Linked DNA regions of Homo sapiens: region 2 is linked to region 1. The links are contacts of gene promoters, found by promoter capture Hi-C in human tissues and cell types (Jung and others, 2019). All regions are on one chromosome and are shown on one strand. Each heading gives the region's core, a stretch centred on a gene start or on the middle of the fragment in contact. The rest is flanking DNA. Distances are from core to core; before and after follow the strand shown.

What was found. Contacts are between HindIII fragments. The study calls those that stand out against the background at their distance.
Region 2: a fragment that was not itself captured here is called in contact with the fragment with the promoter of MAML2 in region 1 in 1 of the 25 tissues and cell types used here (dorsolateral prefrontal cortex).

Annotation. Positions count from the first base shown.
Region 1 is chr11:96,338,242-96,345,737 of GRCh38, forward strand. MAML2 (mastermind like transcriptional coactivator 2) reads right to left here and starts at 4,954. Exons shown (of 5, transcript NM_032427.4): 1 at 3,142-4,954. The coding sequence starts at 3,654. It overlaps MIR1260B (microRNA 1260b), which reads left to right and starts at 3,197; the gene lies at 3,197-3,285. RefSeq lists silencers at 1,024-1,318, 3,571-3,830, 4,948-5,137. The HindIII fragment of the contact is 9,356 bases long and covers 715-7,496 here.
Region 2 is chr11:95,068,726-95,076,221 of GRCh38, forward strand. It overlaps SRSF8 (serine and arginine rich splicing factor 8), which reads left to right. Exons shown (of 1, transcript NM_032102.4): 1 at 1-2,500. Among named protein-coding and RNA genes, the nearest start is that of SRSF8, 5.6 kb to the left of the region's middle. RefSeq lists a silencer at 1,109-1,168. The HindIII fragment of the contact is 3,397 bases long and covers 381-3,777 here.

The sequences.
Region 1 (7,496 bases), core at 3,704-6,203:
GTGCCTAAAGTCTGCTCCAAGTGGTTAGAAATGCAGATCTGCTCAAAGCCCTATAATCCGGGCCCTCTGAAAGGCCCTGTTCCTGCAGACTCTGCAGCAGCGGGGCTTCCCCTGAACTTGTACTTGAGCTAAATGAAGAAACTGGCTGAGTAAGGGCTGTAGAATTAGGCTGTCAATGTGGACAGAATTAAAACTGGCTTGGAGGTTATTCTTGCATTGTTCTTGAAACTTAAGGCTATTGAAAGGATTCAGACATTATATATTCCTTGCTGTATAATACCCATGAAAGTCAACATTATCCCACCAAACAGAAGTTGTCCTTTCACCTTCATTCAACAAATATTACCCACTGTCTTCAAGGCATTGTACTAGAAGGTATGCAGGATACAAAGCTTTCATCTGAGGACACAGCACATCTTTGATTTTAGATGATCAATATTCTCTCCCTTTCTCCAAAGGACATTTATGGCCACTTATGGCATACGAATTAACTATTAAAGTTATACATTCAACACACCTAAGTCACATAAATCTGGTTATGGACACAGTAGCAATAAAATTAAGAAAAAATTCTGACACTCACCCTGAACAAAGGCCCTTTTAAAATTAATAGCATATCTGAAAAATAAGAGGAGCCCGAGTAAAGTGAGACCTGCCAATGTAATGGGCTTGGTGAATCACTTCAAAATGCCCAGGCCTCCCTTTGGACACAATGTTATCAGGTTAATACAGCACTTGCATCACCATCTCTGAGTACCGTGCTGAGTAACAACGGGCCAAATTTAGCAGCTAAAATGGAGAGGGAATTTCCAACAACCCGTGCAATGCCACATATTCTCAGTGAAAAGCAACTACTAGAAATATACTATCCCTTACCCTCCTAACTTAAACTGTGCCTCTCTGCATCATCACTACACCTGGAGAGGGAGCTCCTCTAAGGGAATGTCTCAGGAGATGGCTGGTGGTTAGAAGAGAGAAAGATTCCCTCTTAGGCCAGAGGTAGCACAGCAGCCAGCTATGGCTTCTGCAGCAGTAAGCTTTCAGTCGGGAAGGGCCAGACACCGCTCCCTCACTTCCCTCCCAGCATGGGTATTGCTACTGTAAAGTTACCACGACCACTAAAGTTGGTTTCATTTCCCATCATGAAACACCCTAGAAAAAAAAGGCTGTCTCAGCTTACTGCCAAGTTGGACAAAAGCAGAAGCTCAAAGAACAAGGCCAGAGGCAAACATGCCACCTTTCCTTCAGAGGCTGGGCTGTGAAGGCCACAAGGGAAGCCCACTGTGGCTCTTCACGGCCCCGCTCCGGCCTTGACACCCCGGGCAGAGATCAGTCTTCTCCACTCAGGGTTGGGCCGGGTGCCTCACTTGCGGTTCCATCCCCAGAAACACTTACCAGGAGACTGTGAAGCACACAAAGCCGCATTATTGGGAGACTTGCAGACAGATTATAAATTTACTGGGGACAATCAAGGCATTTAGATACTTTTGGCTACAGATGCTGGTGACACACACATACATACAAACCTCATTCTTCTCTCCATTTGAGCGATTCTTTACCCCCCTCCTTTACCCTAACATCTCTTTTTTCACAAAACAACCTCCCACTGCTTTCCTAGGGAATTCCAGGGAGAAGCGGGAATAGAGCAGGTGGTAGAAAAAGGATATTAGGCTTCGAAGCTCTAATACAACCCCACAAGCTAGTGCTGCTATTCAAGGGTAAAACTGTAAACCCTGTGCAGTTTAACTGTTGGTAGTTATTTTTCATCTGGAGCTGGCCTCAAGGAGTCCCATTCCTAGGTAGCCCAAGTAAATGTGCTTATGGCTGGGGAGAAAAGCACCATCCTACTCCCCAGAGATTCCCAGGGTCTTCGTCACCATGGACCCAGGCCAGGGATTAAGGGAAGCCAGAAAGAGCCATCCTGAGCGTCTGGCCAGAGGATGTCCTCTCCCGAGAGCTCAATATCAAGCTCCTTTGGAGGAGCAGTTAGACACAATAGCACCATCTCCTTTGGGCTTTTTGAGTACTTTGGGGCTTGCATGGCCATTTCCTGTCGCTTTTGCTAGGGCTGACCTGGGTAAACTGGAGCAGACATAGAATCCAGAAGTCCCATGGAGCTCCAAAAGGGAGGAAGCCTGCAGGGCCACAGGGCAGGGTTCTACCTTCCACCAGAGGCCACTGGTCCAGCAGCTTTGGGGGGAAGCCTGCAAACAGCAGGCAGTCACCTGACCAGGACTGGCACTGAGAATCAATGATCCAAGGGATACTCCTCTGGGATGGTGTGTGTCTGTGCCTCTGGGGAAGAACTTCCAGCCAGAAACTTAATCAGAACTTTTGGGTTTGATATCCTATCACCAGGAGTGGCTGAAGACAAGGTATTTCCTAGGATGATGATCTGTGTAAATAGCTGCTTCGTGCCTGTCTGCTTAACGAATGCTCTAAGGGAGCATTACTGGATTGGACTGGAGTGCTTGGGAAAATAATCGAGATGTGGCTCAGGAGTGAGAGAGTCTAGAGGGAATCAGAGAGTAGGCCTCTTAAGAAACAGTGCCTCCCTAGTCTCTCTTTGGGATATTTTCCCCAAATTTTGTTTTTGACTGAGGGGACATTCGGGGAATTTGCTATTTGTTACAGCTTACCATTTATGTTCTCTTAAGCGAAGAAGAAGGGGGTCACTTCAAAAGGGAGAGGGGAAATGGGGCAAGGAGAAAAAGGCTTTAATAAAGGCCAGCTGGGCTGATAAATGCTTTGGGGCTGAAAAATGGCTTGGGGGCCTAATCAGAGCTGGCTGGCCAAAGCTGGAGGATCCATGAGATAGAACCTTCCTCAGTGGCTCAGATCTTGCCAGCTGGTAGCCTCTTCTTTTATAAGATGTGGACCCCAGAGAGCCTCTGGAAAACTCAGGCTTCTTATCAGTTAAGGAATATCCTATAAGCGAAGGAAAACCCAGGAGTGAGCACCAACAGAACATGATGAGTAGGCGCATGAAACCACCCGAACACACCCAATGGCCTTTAAGGTAGTCAGGTGACATCTTGGCCTTTTTCATTGCCATCCACTCTACCTTAGGCCAAAGCAAACTCTACCCTCACAAAAGGTCACAGGACCACAGCCAGAACCATGAGAAAGCCAGGTGCTTACCGCAATCAGGGCTGAGTTCCTCTGGTCCCCTGGGGTTGAAGCGGGCGGCTGCTGCTCTCCGTTTATCCCACCACTGCCACCATTATTGCTACTGTTCAGCAGGTGCTGCTGGTGGTGATGGTGATAGTCTGGTGGGGGCGGTGGGGCTGCTGTTGCTGCTGCTTGGGAGGCCGCAGGAGGGGCAGCAGGGGGCGGTGGAGGGGCTGTAGTGGTGGCAGCAGTGGCGGTGGCCTTGGTGTGTTTGCCAGCTTTCCTTGCCCCCTGGCCATGCTGTACAAGGCTCAGGAGCTGCAAGGTGCTTTCTCTTTCCCGGTCTGAGCTCTCGGCCCTACCTCGTTCATATCGTCCTTCACAGCTCAGGTGGTGTTGGCGGCAGACAGCGATCCGAGCCCGGAGGCGCTCCACGATAGCACTGTGCACTCTCGGGGTGACTGAGCCCCCTCCAAGGAGCCCCGCCCCAGAGGCCCCCCCTAGCCCTCCTGCGGGGGCCTGCGGGGGCGCTGTGTCCCCCATCTTACCGGACACAATGATTGCTGCCTCTGGGATGGTGAGGTGGAAAGAGGCTACTGCTGGCTATTGCAGGCAAGTCTGTTTTTGACAATGTGAGCTCAGTGTTCAGGGCCACATGAATAGAGGTCTTCAGAGGTTGTGGGGGAGCCGTGGAGAAGTTGTGGGGGAGGGGAGTTAGTAAAAAGAGGGTGGGGAGAAAGAATAGAAACCAACTGGGGGGAGGATAAGTTGGAAACAAACCCTGATTAACTTACTCTAATTGCATTTGACAGCTCTGGAGAAGTTGGACAGAGTTGGTGGATTTTTTTTCCTCCACCAAGCTGACAAGAGCCACTAGGTACTTTGTAAACACACGATCTGGGGGTTAGATCAAGAATTCAGGGATTGTCCAGCAAGAGACAGAAACACACAGCAAAAGGTATTGAGAGAGGTATTAATAGAGAGGACTCCCCCTCACCTAGTTGTTTCCGACAATTCTTTATGGGGATGTTTCTGCAGAGAAACACATTTCTACCATGTCTATGTAACCAGCAGCCTTGACTTTTCCTCAGGTTAAATAAAAAACCAAAACAAAACAAAACAGTGCTGTTTCAGAAGATGTTTAAGTCACTGTTCAAAATGTGCAAAAATCAAGGGAGACTGTCTTTTGGCTTTTAATTTTTCCTCCCTTTCCTTTCGCTCCGGTGTTTTCTCCTCTTTGGGGTACTGTAGGATGTTGTCTTCTCCCAAAAGAGGGAGACAGCTTTTCAACTGTTAACAATGTCAGTAATTGGACTTTTGGACCATGCTTTTTTCTTCAGCTAATCCAATCACCGGTAAAATCCTCACTCCCTCTAAGGTTTCCTAGCCTTAAATGAAAAGCAATCTTAAGTCGCTAGCCACTGAGAGAGATCCTTCAACACATTTTTTTCTTTCCCGCTTACGTTTCTATTCCTCACCCCCGGCTCTATTCTAATACAGTATCAAGAGAGACAAACTCTTCCGAGAGTAATTTACAAACGATGGTCAAACTTACAAACTTCCAGCAAATTGCACCGAGTCATGTCCAGCCACTTTTCTGTCCACTTTTGTACATTCCATCCCCGGCCAGTGGATCTGAGGGTCTGGACTCGCAATAAGCAATCTGGTTCTATCTCCTGTATTTGCTCCGCTTTATAGATGGAAAAAAAAAGTAGCTTGTATTTTCCTTTCTCTTTCTCGTCTGTTGTTAGCCGCTTTGCTGACACTGGCTCGCGCCCGGAGTCACGGCGATACACAGGCTTTCATTGTGCTCCGATAGGAGAGGGAGAGAAAGAGAGAGAGTGAGACAGAGAAGGAGAAAGAGAGAGCCAGCAAGCTGCAGATGGGGGTGGGGGGGCGGGGAGAGGGCGGGAGAGCTCGTTCGAGGCTCCCTGGTGGAAGGCTGGTGCCACTGCGCGAGTGAGTAATCGCAGCCAGGCACCGGGGAAAGGGGAACGCAGAGGGCCTCCCAGTGGCTGAAGAGGTAAATCCCAAGCCCTGCGCATCTCAGCTGCCCTGGCTCAGCTCAGCATCAGACTCGGTTAAGCGGGGAAGGCTGGGGAAATTCCCCAACCTCTACACAACCATTTCACCAGCTCTAAATGTTTAAGAAATTCCGGGCCAGGAATGTGTTTTCCCTTTCAGCCCTACATTACGCCCCGCTGAGGATATCATTTTCATTTTTCAGTATATTGTAAATGACACCACTGAGCAACCTAGCACGAGCTGTGTGAGCACCGAGGAAATGTTCATTAATAGAATAAGGAAGATATGAATGTGTGTGTTGAGGGCGGAAGGGGTTGCGCGTGGAGAGGAGAGGTAATCACATTGTTAGCTCCTAAAGGGCAGGCAGGTGTAGCGTTTGTCTACCTGCCTGCCCATTTGTGTGTCTCTGGATAAGTGAGTCTGGGTGATCACAGGCAAATCAGTTGGGATAAATAAAATATTTTATGAGAATGATACAATTATCGATACCAGTTCTAGAAAAAAACGCTTTTTTTTTGGGAATGCATGATTGCCTATGAAAAACCAAATATAAGACCTGAAGTATCCTTAGCTACCTGGTGCACATATACAATGAGGAAAGTCAATGTGTAGCAGCTGAGTTTCAAAAAGTTTTTTTTTTTTTTTTCTTTTAATGGAGTCTTGTTATGTTGCCCAGGCTGGAGTTGAACTCCTGGGCTCAAGTGATCCTCCCACTTGAGCCTCCTGAGTAGCTGGAACTACAGGTACTCACCACTACTGCACCTGGCTCTGAGTTTCAAGAAGTTTAATAATAGAAACCAAATAGATCTCACACAGATCATTGTTCCCCCATTTTCAAGTGATCCAACCTTTAAAATATCCAATCCTGGCCAGGCACAGTGGCTCACGCCTGTAATCCCAGCACTTTGGGAGGCCAAGGCAGGTGTATTACCTGAGTTCAAGAGTTCAAGACCAGCCTGGCCAATATGGTGAAACCCCGTCTCTGCTAAAACTACAAAAATTAGCTGAGCATGGTGTCATACGCCTGTAATCCCAGCTACTCGGGAGGCTGAGACAGGATAATTGCTGGAACCCAGGAGGCGGAGGTCGCAGTGAGCTAAGATCACGCCACTGCGCTCCAACCTGGGCAACAGGGTGAGTCTCTGTCTCCAAAAAAAAAAAAAAAACTTATTGTGGATTCTGCTTATTTTCAATTATGAAGATTAAATTAAGGTGAGCATAATACTGCAACAGTCAGGACCAAAAATATTCTGGGTATCCTAATTTGGAAGTCATTTGGATTTGAGGTCTCAAATAATATACCTTCAGTAATCTAAACAAACTCTGGCATTTCACGAATATGGTCGTTTCAAACTGAGCTATGGATAGAAATAGGCAAAATCAAGGCAAACATCTCAATACTGGATTTATTTGCAATTTAGTTCCCTATAGGATAGCCTACTTTAGTCCATTTTATTTTCACCAATCCTGTTAGCTTGGAAATGGGGACAAATACACTCAGATTTTTTGTTTGTTTTATAATTTCTTTTATTTCTTTTTTTAAATTTTATTATTATTATACTTTAAGTTTTAGGGTACATGTTCACAACGTGCAGGTTTGTTACATATGTATACATGTGCCATGCTGGTGTGCTGCACCCATGAACTCGTTATTTAGCATTAGGCATATCTCCTAATGCTATCTCTCCCCCCTCACCCCACCCCACAACAGTCCCCAGAGTGTGATGTTCCCCTTCCTGTGTCCATGTGATCTCATTGTTCAATTCCCACCTATGAGTGAGAACATGCGGTGTTTGTTTCTTCGTCCTTGTGATAGTTTGCTGAGAATGATGGTTTCCAGCTTCATCCATGTCCCTACAAAGGACATGAACTCATCAATTTTTATGGCTGCATAGTATTCCATGGTGTATATGTGCCACATTTTCTTAATCCAGTCTATCATTGTTGGACATTTGGGTTGGTTCCAAGTCTTTACTATTGTGAATAGTGCCGCAATAAACGTACCAGTGCATGTGTCTCTATAGCAGCATAATTTATAGTCCTTTGGGTATATACCCAGTAATGGGATGGCTGGGTCAAATGGTATTTCTAGTTCTAGATCCCTGAGGAATCGCCACACTGACTTCCACAATGGTTAAACTAGTTTACAGTCCCACCAACAGTGTAAAAGTGTTCCTATTTCTCCACATCCTCTCCAGCACCTGTTGTTTCCTGACTTTTTAATGATTGCCATTCTAACTGGTGTGAGATGGTATCTCATAGTGGTTTTGATTTGCGTTTCTCTGATGGCCAATGACGATGAGCATTTTTTCATGTGCTTTTTGGCTGCATAAATGTCTTCTTTCGAGAAGTGTCTGTTC
Region 2 (7,496 bases), core at 829-3,328, 1.3 Mb before region 1:
CTGCTTCCTGTTTTCTTCTGATTGCTCCTGGGGAAAACACGCCTTGTCCTGAAGAACAAATGGCTGTCCAGTTTATTAAAATGCCTGTCAACTGCACTTCCAGTCACCCAGGCCTTGCAGATAAATAATGGAGCATGCAGTGAGCACATCTAGCTGACGATAATCACACCTTTTCCCCCGTCTTTTCTGAAAAATTGTAAATCTGATCATATCAACATGTATGAACTTAAAATATGGAGAATGTTATGGAAGAAATAGTTTATAAGTTTGTTAAGTACTTATAACATGGTTTATCTTTTTGATTATTAATTTTTTACGCTAACCATTGTTTCTGTAGTTAAAATTGTTTTCTTGGTGTTATCTTTTCTCAGAATAAAATTAGAAACTTTTGATGGAAAGTAGGTTGTTTTATTTTCTGTATGACTTTTGGATATTTGTACTTTTGAGAAAATTATTAGCACCAAGTGTTTCTCAAAATATAATTTTTAAAAAATCCTTAATAGGCTTTTAGCTATGTGCTTTATTGTTTTATCACAATGCAGTTTATTTGTAGTTTCTCTCTTTTTTCCTCACACCTATGGTTTTTTTACTTCCAAAATTATTTTCAAATAATCCATTTTTGGCTTTCATCATTATCCCTACTAGATGTTATGTGTTCTTTTGCAATTGTTTCTGCTTATACCTTTACTAGCAAAGGGAAAAATAACAATTTGGTGTCAATGATCTGGTGACAATAGGATTACATTGGAGCCAATTGAATAAATTTATTCTTTCAATCATATGGATCTTCATTAATATTTTTGACTGAATTATCAATTAAAAATATTTCATTCCCTTTGTGCAGAAACTGCTAAATCCAGGGTTCGATTCTTGAATGAACTGGCAAGGTGGCTGTGGTCTGTAGATATACATCCCACATTTTGTTGTTATAACAGTTAGTAGTTAGTATTGCTTTCATATATAGACTCCAGAATCTAAATTTTACGATAATGACATTTCTTCTGGTCATGACAAATGTAATATTTTACAAATATAAATCTACGTAGAATCCAAAGACACACACAGAGCAGTCCTGTCTGAGAAATAAAAAATCAGGACACCCATGGCATCGTAGTAGCCCCTCGCGTCCAGCAGGTGGCGAAGGGAGGTGAGGTATATTTATTAAATGGGACCGAGTGGGACGGGGACGGGGCAGCCCTAAGGGTAGGGAAGCATTGTCAATTTCTGGGGATAGAATGAGACCCAGGCATAGCTGGAGTTTGAAGCTTTGAAGCAAAAATATCTGTAGAACATCTTAAACGTGACCAAAATATGATGTTAAAATCAGCAACTCTTTATACGTTAAAAACTTTGAAACCTGTGGCCGGGCATGGTGGCTCGCGCCTGTAATCCCAGCACTTTGGGAGGCCAAGGCAGGTGGATCACCTGAGGTCAGGAGCTCAAGACCAGCCTGACCAACATGGTGAAACCCCGTCTCTACTAAAAATACAAAAATTAGCTGGGCATGGTGGCGCATGCCTATAATCCCAGCTACTCGGAGGCTGAGGCAGGATAATCGCTTGAAACCGGGAGACAGAGGTTGTGGTGAGCCGAGATCACGCCATTGCACTCCAGCCGGGGCAACAAGAGCAAAACTTCATCTCAAAAAAAAAAAAAAAAGAAAAAGGAAAAAAACAAACAAACAACAACTTTGAAACCTAGGAACAATTTTGGACCTGTTGGAGCAGAAATGTGTAGTTGTCATTGAAGGTGTGAACATACCCTACCTCTACTCTACATGTGGAAGACCTGACCCACAGAGGACATGAACCCATGAAGAAGAGTGATGTGACATGTTTTGCATTTTATTAGTACCATGATCTAACCAACTGAGCTAACTGGCCACACCATTTTATCCTTTATAATGATCACTATGAGGGCTGAGTGCAGAATGGAGTGTATGTGGTCAAGAGTGGAAGCTGTGAGGCTATTGCAGTAATCCAGAAAGAAAGGTGACAATGGCTTAGACTTCAGTGGTAGTGTTGGAAATGGACATAAATAGACATATTCAGGAAATATATTGATCTTAGATCTAATAAGACACGTAATAGATTAGAAGTAGGGAAATTAATGAAAAAGCAGAATTAAGGATGACTTCTCACTGGCTTGAAATGCTAAATGGATGACGGTGCTGTTTAGTGAGTTGGGGAAGACTGGGCGTGGTGATGGGTGTAGAAATTGAGAAAGGAAAATCAAGAATTTCCAGAACTTTCAGAGCAATGTTAAATACTTTCCTTGATAGTGGGTCAGTCATCATTTATAAGTGCATTTCTAAAAATATTGCTTAATTTTGTTTTTGAGCTTTGTATAAGTGGAATTTTGTGTGTACTGATTATTTTGCTCAATACTATGTCTTTAAGATTCTCTGTATTGTTGCATGTGGCTGAGTTTATTTTTGATGCTGTGTAGTGTTTTACTAATTAATAAATCATAATTCAGTTTTTACTGTTCTATTGATGGACATCTGGGTTGTTTCCTATTTTAGTTATTCTGAATAAGGAAGCAATGAATATTTTTATACATAAAACCTGATGTACACGTGTATATATATTTCAGGTATCAATCCCAAAAGTGCATTTTCTGGGTTATAGATCAAGTACATATTCAATTTTGTTAGATAATTTTCAACTATTTTCCAAAGTAGTTCTACCAATATATACTATTATCATCAATTGATGAGAATTCTACTTGCTCCACATCCTCATTAACACTTGTTAACGTCAGACCTTTTAATATTTGCAAATCTGATGGGTATATAGTGGTATTTCATTTGGTTTTAATTTTCTTTACCCTGATTACCAAAAGGTTGTAGCTTTTTATTTGTTTGTTTTTTAGCCACTTGGATATCCTCCTTTGTGAAGTGCCTTTTCAATAATTTGTCCACCTTCCTATTGGGTCACCTGTCTTTTCTTAACAATTTAAAGGTATTTTCTATGTATCTGGATCTTATTTGTCTTTATGCCCTATAAATATATTTTCCCATTCTGTGGCTTGTTTTTTAATTCACTTTATGATGTCTTTTGATGAGTTATTTTTACACTAATGTAGCTAAATTCTTCAAACATTTTGTGGTTAGTGTTTTATATGTCTTGTTTTCTAATTTGAAGCAGTAAAGATAGTTTCATATATTATTTCCTATACTCAGTATAGTATTGTCTTTCAGCATTTAGTACTTTAACACAACTGAAATTGATTTTTGTGCATGTGGTGAGGTAAAAATCTAACATAATTTTTTTCCTACTTGGATATCAATTTTTAAAGCACTATTTATTGAAAACTCCTTTCCTATCCAATCTGCCACCTCTACCATATATTAGTATCCATACTGGGTAAGTTTACTTCTGGATTCACTATTTATTTCTATTGAGATATATACATATACATATACATACTGTGTATGTGTATATATACATGTATACACATACATATACATATATAAAGATGTAGATATATATAGAAGATATAAAAGATATATAGTCTGTAATATATAACATATATATAATTTTATGTAAATAGAATATATATAAAGTCTAAAATATATTTTATTTATATTTCATATATATTATGTATACTTATATATAATATATAAATATATAATGTAATTATGTATTATATATATAGAGAGAGAGACAGGCAGAGACAGAGACAGAGAGAGACAGAATCTTGCTCTGTTGCCCAGGCTGGAGTGCAGTGGTGTGATCTTGGCTAACTGCAGCCTCGACTTTTTGGGCCCAAGTCATCATCTCACTTCAGCCTCCCAAGTAGCTGGGACTACAGGCACACACCACCACATCCAGCTAACTTTTGTATTTTTTATGGAGATGAGGTTTTGCCATGTTGCCTAGACTGGTCTTGAACTCCTGAGCTCAAGTGATCTGTCCGCCTTGGCCCCTATTAGTATGTTTTTTCCATGCCTGCACCTAATACTGTCTTAATTACTTCAGCTTTATAATAAACCTTGATATCTAATAAAGCAAGTTCTCTCATCTTGTCTTCATCAAGAGTGGCTTAGCTATTCTTGGTGTTCCTCTTCCAGGAGAAGTGGATAACAAGATGAGATACTGAAAGTTCTACCCCTTGAACGGTTTTTCCCTTCTCCAGAATTGCTCAGGGACATACTGTGTAGGTTATAATGCCACCATGACCCATGCTAATGGTTGTAGCCACTTATGCACAGCCATTTGTAACTGAGCTTGATAATTTTACTTCCTCAATCAATTGCTTACCAGAGAATTCCCTACAAGGCTATATGTGAAGACTGGAAGAGGATAGCAGAGTGGCAAGAGCAGGCATACTGGGGACTATAAGTCACCTGCTTATGTGATTTACTTGTGTCTTCAGAACATGTCCCATCTTGGTCATTTCAGTCTTATTTCTGCTTGAGGGCAGAGAGCTGGCAGGTGTGACTCACTTTGTGTCTTGTTAGGTCAGTCATCACCCAGCTCATGATGGGAGGCTCAGGTCATATGCTCACCTATGGTCAAGTTTTTTTTATCTCTGCCAGGGCCCAAGAGCAAGTGAAGAGCTTCCAATGGAGAACTGTCATTTACTCAAGAGGAGAGTTATCTACTAAATACAGCATGGATTTGCTTCAGAAACCCAGAACAGTGGTTCTCAAACAGAAATGTACATTTGAATCCTGTGGGGATCATGTTAAAATGCAGATTTCAATTCAGTGAGTTTGGTCTGGGGCCTGAGATTCTGCATGTTTAATAAAATCCCAGGTATTGTCAGGGCTGCTGGTCATGGACCATTCTTTAAGTAGCAAGGATGTAGAAAACTCCATTGTGATTCTCCTGTGGGAACTTGATATGAAACATCAGTGTTTCTCAAAGTGTCCTTCCCCTCCTTGCAACAGCAGAATCAGTATCACCTGGAAACGTGTTAGAAAATTCCAGAATTGGTGAGGCCAATTCTAGGGCCTCACTTCCCAGACCTACCAAATTAGAAACTCTAAGATAGGACTCAGCAATCTGGTTTAACAAGCTCCCCAGGTGATTCTAATATGCACTAAAGTTTGAAAACCACTGTTCTCCATAGGTTGCTGGTTCTCAACCAATTAAATCAGTATCTCTGGAAGTGGGACATAGGTATCAACACTATTTTTAAGTTCCCAAGCTGGGCGTGGTAGCGCATGCCTGTACTCCTAGCTACTCAGGAGGCTGAGGTGAGAGGATCCCTGGAGTCCAGGAGTTTAAGGCTGCAGTGAGCTATGAGTTTTGTGGGAAAATATTCTAAACCGTAACAAGGACCTATAATTACCATCTGAGACGGGAGTGGAAAATTAGTCTAATGACATTCAGACAAGAGCTTTGTAAGGTACTAAAATTGTTTGGTGTCTGTGTAAGCGTGTGAGTATATGTGTGTATTGACTTCTTCCCTGCAGCAGTAAGGAGTGAAGCCTTTGTTCTCCCTTTGGAGTAGCAAGGAAGTAGGCAGGTAGGGAGATTTTAACTCCCTCTTCCACCAGGATGGAAATTAAAGAATACGGTGGGTGAACATAGAAAGAGGTGAAGAAGATGGGCCGAGTCCCAGCCGCATACTACAGAGAAGAAAGGAGACTTGAGGAAGCCTGCTTGGGTTTAGAGGGGCCTGGGGAACTTAGTTACAACAAAGGCTCTGTGCTATTCCTCACTGGGTGCTGGAAAGGACATTCAGAGAGGGATTTCTCTTTTCACCGTATAACTAGAACTATGGATTAAGGTTCTGGATGTCGGGGAAAATGTCCACTGTTAGGGTACTGTGTGGGAGAAGCTCCGCCCACCTCGTATTAGGCCTCCTGATGTAAGATGGGCCACAGGTTAGTGGGTTAGGTAATGTCTCTGGGGACTGGAGCCTTGCCATTGGCCAAAGAAGACAATCAGTCCCTTAGGTGGTATTCAAAGGGTGGAGAAAACTCTGTTGTAACAACATCTGAGATAAAAAGTTAAAAAGGTTTCAGTAACTGTAGTGAAGGGCCCTATGAAAGCAGTTCATACTGCTGAACTAGATTCTCAGAGTGGCTGCCACAAAACAGAAGTGTTGAGATGAAGCTAAAGGCCAGTCCTGAAAGCATGCAGCTTTCTACTCCGAGTTCTCCCACTACTTTCCCCTCTGTTCCCCTGCATTTCTGCATCTTCCTGCCACTTGAGTCCTCCCACCAGTACATGAAGGGTCAAGAGGCCTGTGCCAAAGTGGTGACTGTGATGAACCAAGATAGATTTCCCTGGGCCCAAGCCACTCCTTATATTGGCACCCAGCTGTGCAGCAAGCTTCCCTGGCATGGCTCCAGAGCTGCCGAGGGTTTCCTTCCTCGCTATCAAAGAGAGGGTGACTCCCAGGAACGTGTGCCTCTGTTTGTCCATTACAAATGACCTTGCATCCTTGTTACGAGAAATTCCAGGAAGGCAATTACTCTGGATAGTAATAATGATTCTCTGTTAATTATTCCTTCCATCACCTCCTCCCTCACAGCCTCTTATTTTTCTTTTAATGGTGAAATAAATAAATGATGATGTGGTTTTGTGTTTTCCCTCTTGTCACAAACTCAGCCCATCCATTGGCATGCTGTGTATCATGTATACAAAGTTGATTCTGAAGCGTGATGTGTTTAGTAAAGCAAACCTTTCCCTTACTCACCACTTTTACCTTTCCAGCAGTTAGTTACAGAGGAAAACCGGATGTAGAGCCAGCTGAACAGCAATTGAATCTGGCCTTGCCACTTTGTGGTCATGTGACTTTCAGAAAAAAATCGTTGATTTTCTCTGAGCCAAAATTACAGTGCAGGATTTTTGTGAAGATATTGTGTGATGTAAATGTGACAGGCAAGTAGGAGGTGCTTGATAGATTTGAGCAAGAATTCTGTGCATTTATGCATTCTCCCTACCTCTAGGATAAGTCCGAGGGCAAGGACCTACTCTCATATCCTTTATTTCTGTGATGCTCAGTTATACCACTGTCCTCACCACCACTCCCACAGCCCTACCCATTACTTTTTTAATTAATGAGTTTTATTTTTTTAGAATAGTTTATGGCAAAACTGAGCAGAAGTTAGAGTTCTTCTATAGACCCTGTCCCCACATATGCATAGCCTCCCTCAGCAACATCCTCCACCAGAGTGGTGCATTTGTTACAGCTGATGAACCAATTGATGAACACACCATTATCACCCAAAGCTCATAGTTTATATTAGGATTCAGCCTTGGTGTTGCACGTTCTTTGAGTCTGGACAAATGACTTATAATGATAAGTATCCACTCTTATAGTATTATTCAGAGTAGTTTCACTGCCCTAAAACATCCTCTGTGTTCCACCCATTCATCCCTCCTTAACCTCTGGCAACCACTACTGTTTTTACTGCCTCTATAGTTTTGCCTTTTCTACAATGTCATATAGTTGGAATCACAGAGTATGTAGCCTTTCAGATTGGCTTTTTTCACTTAGTAATATACATTTAAATTTCCTCCATGTCTTGTGGC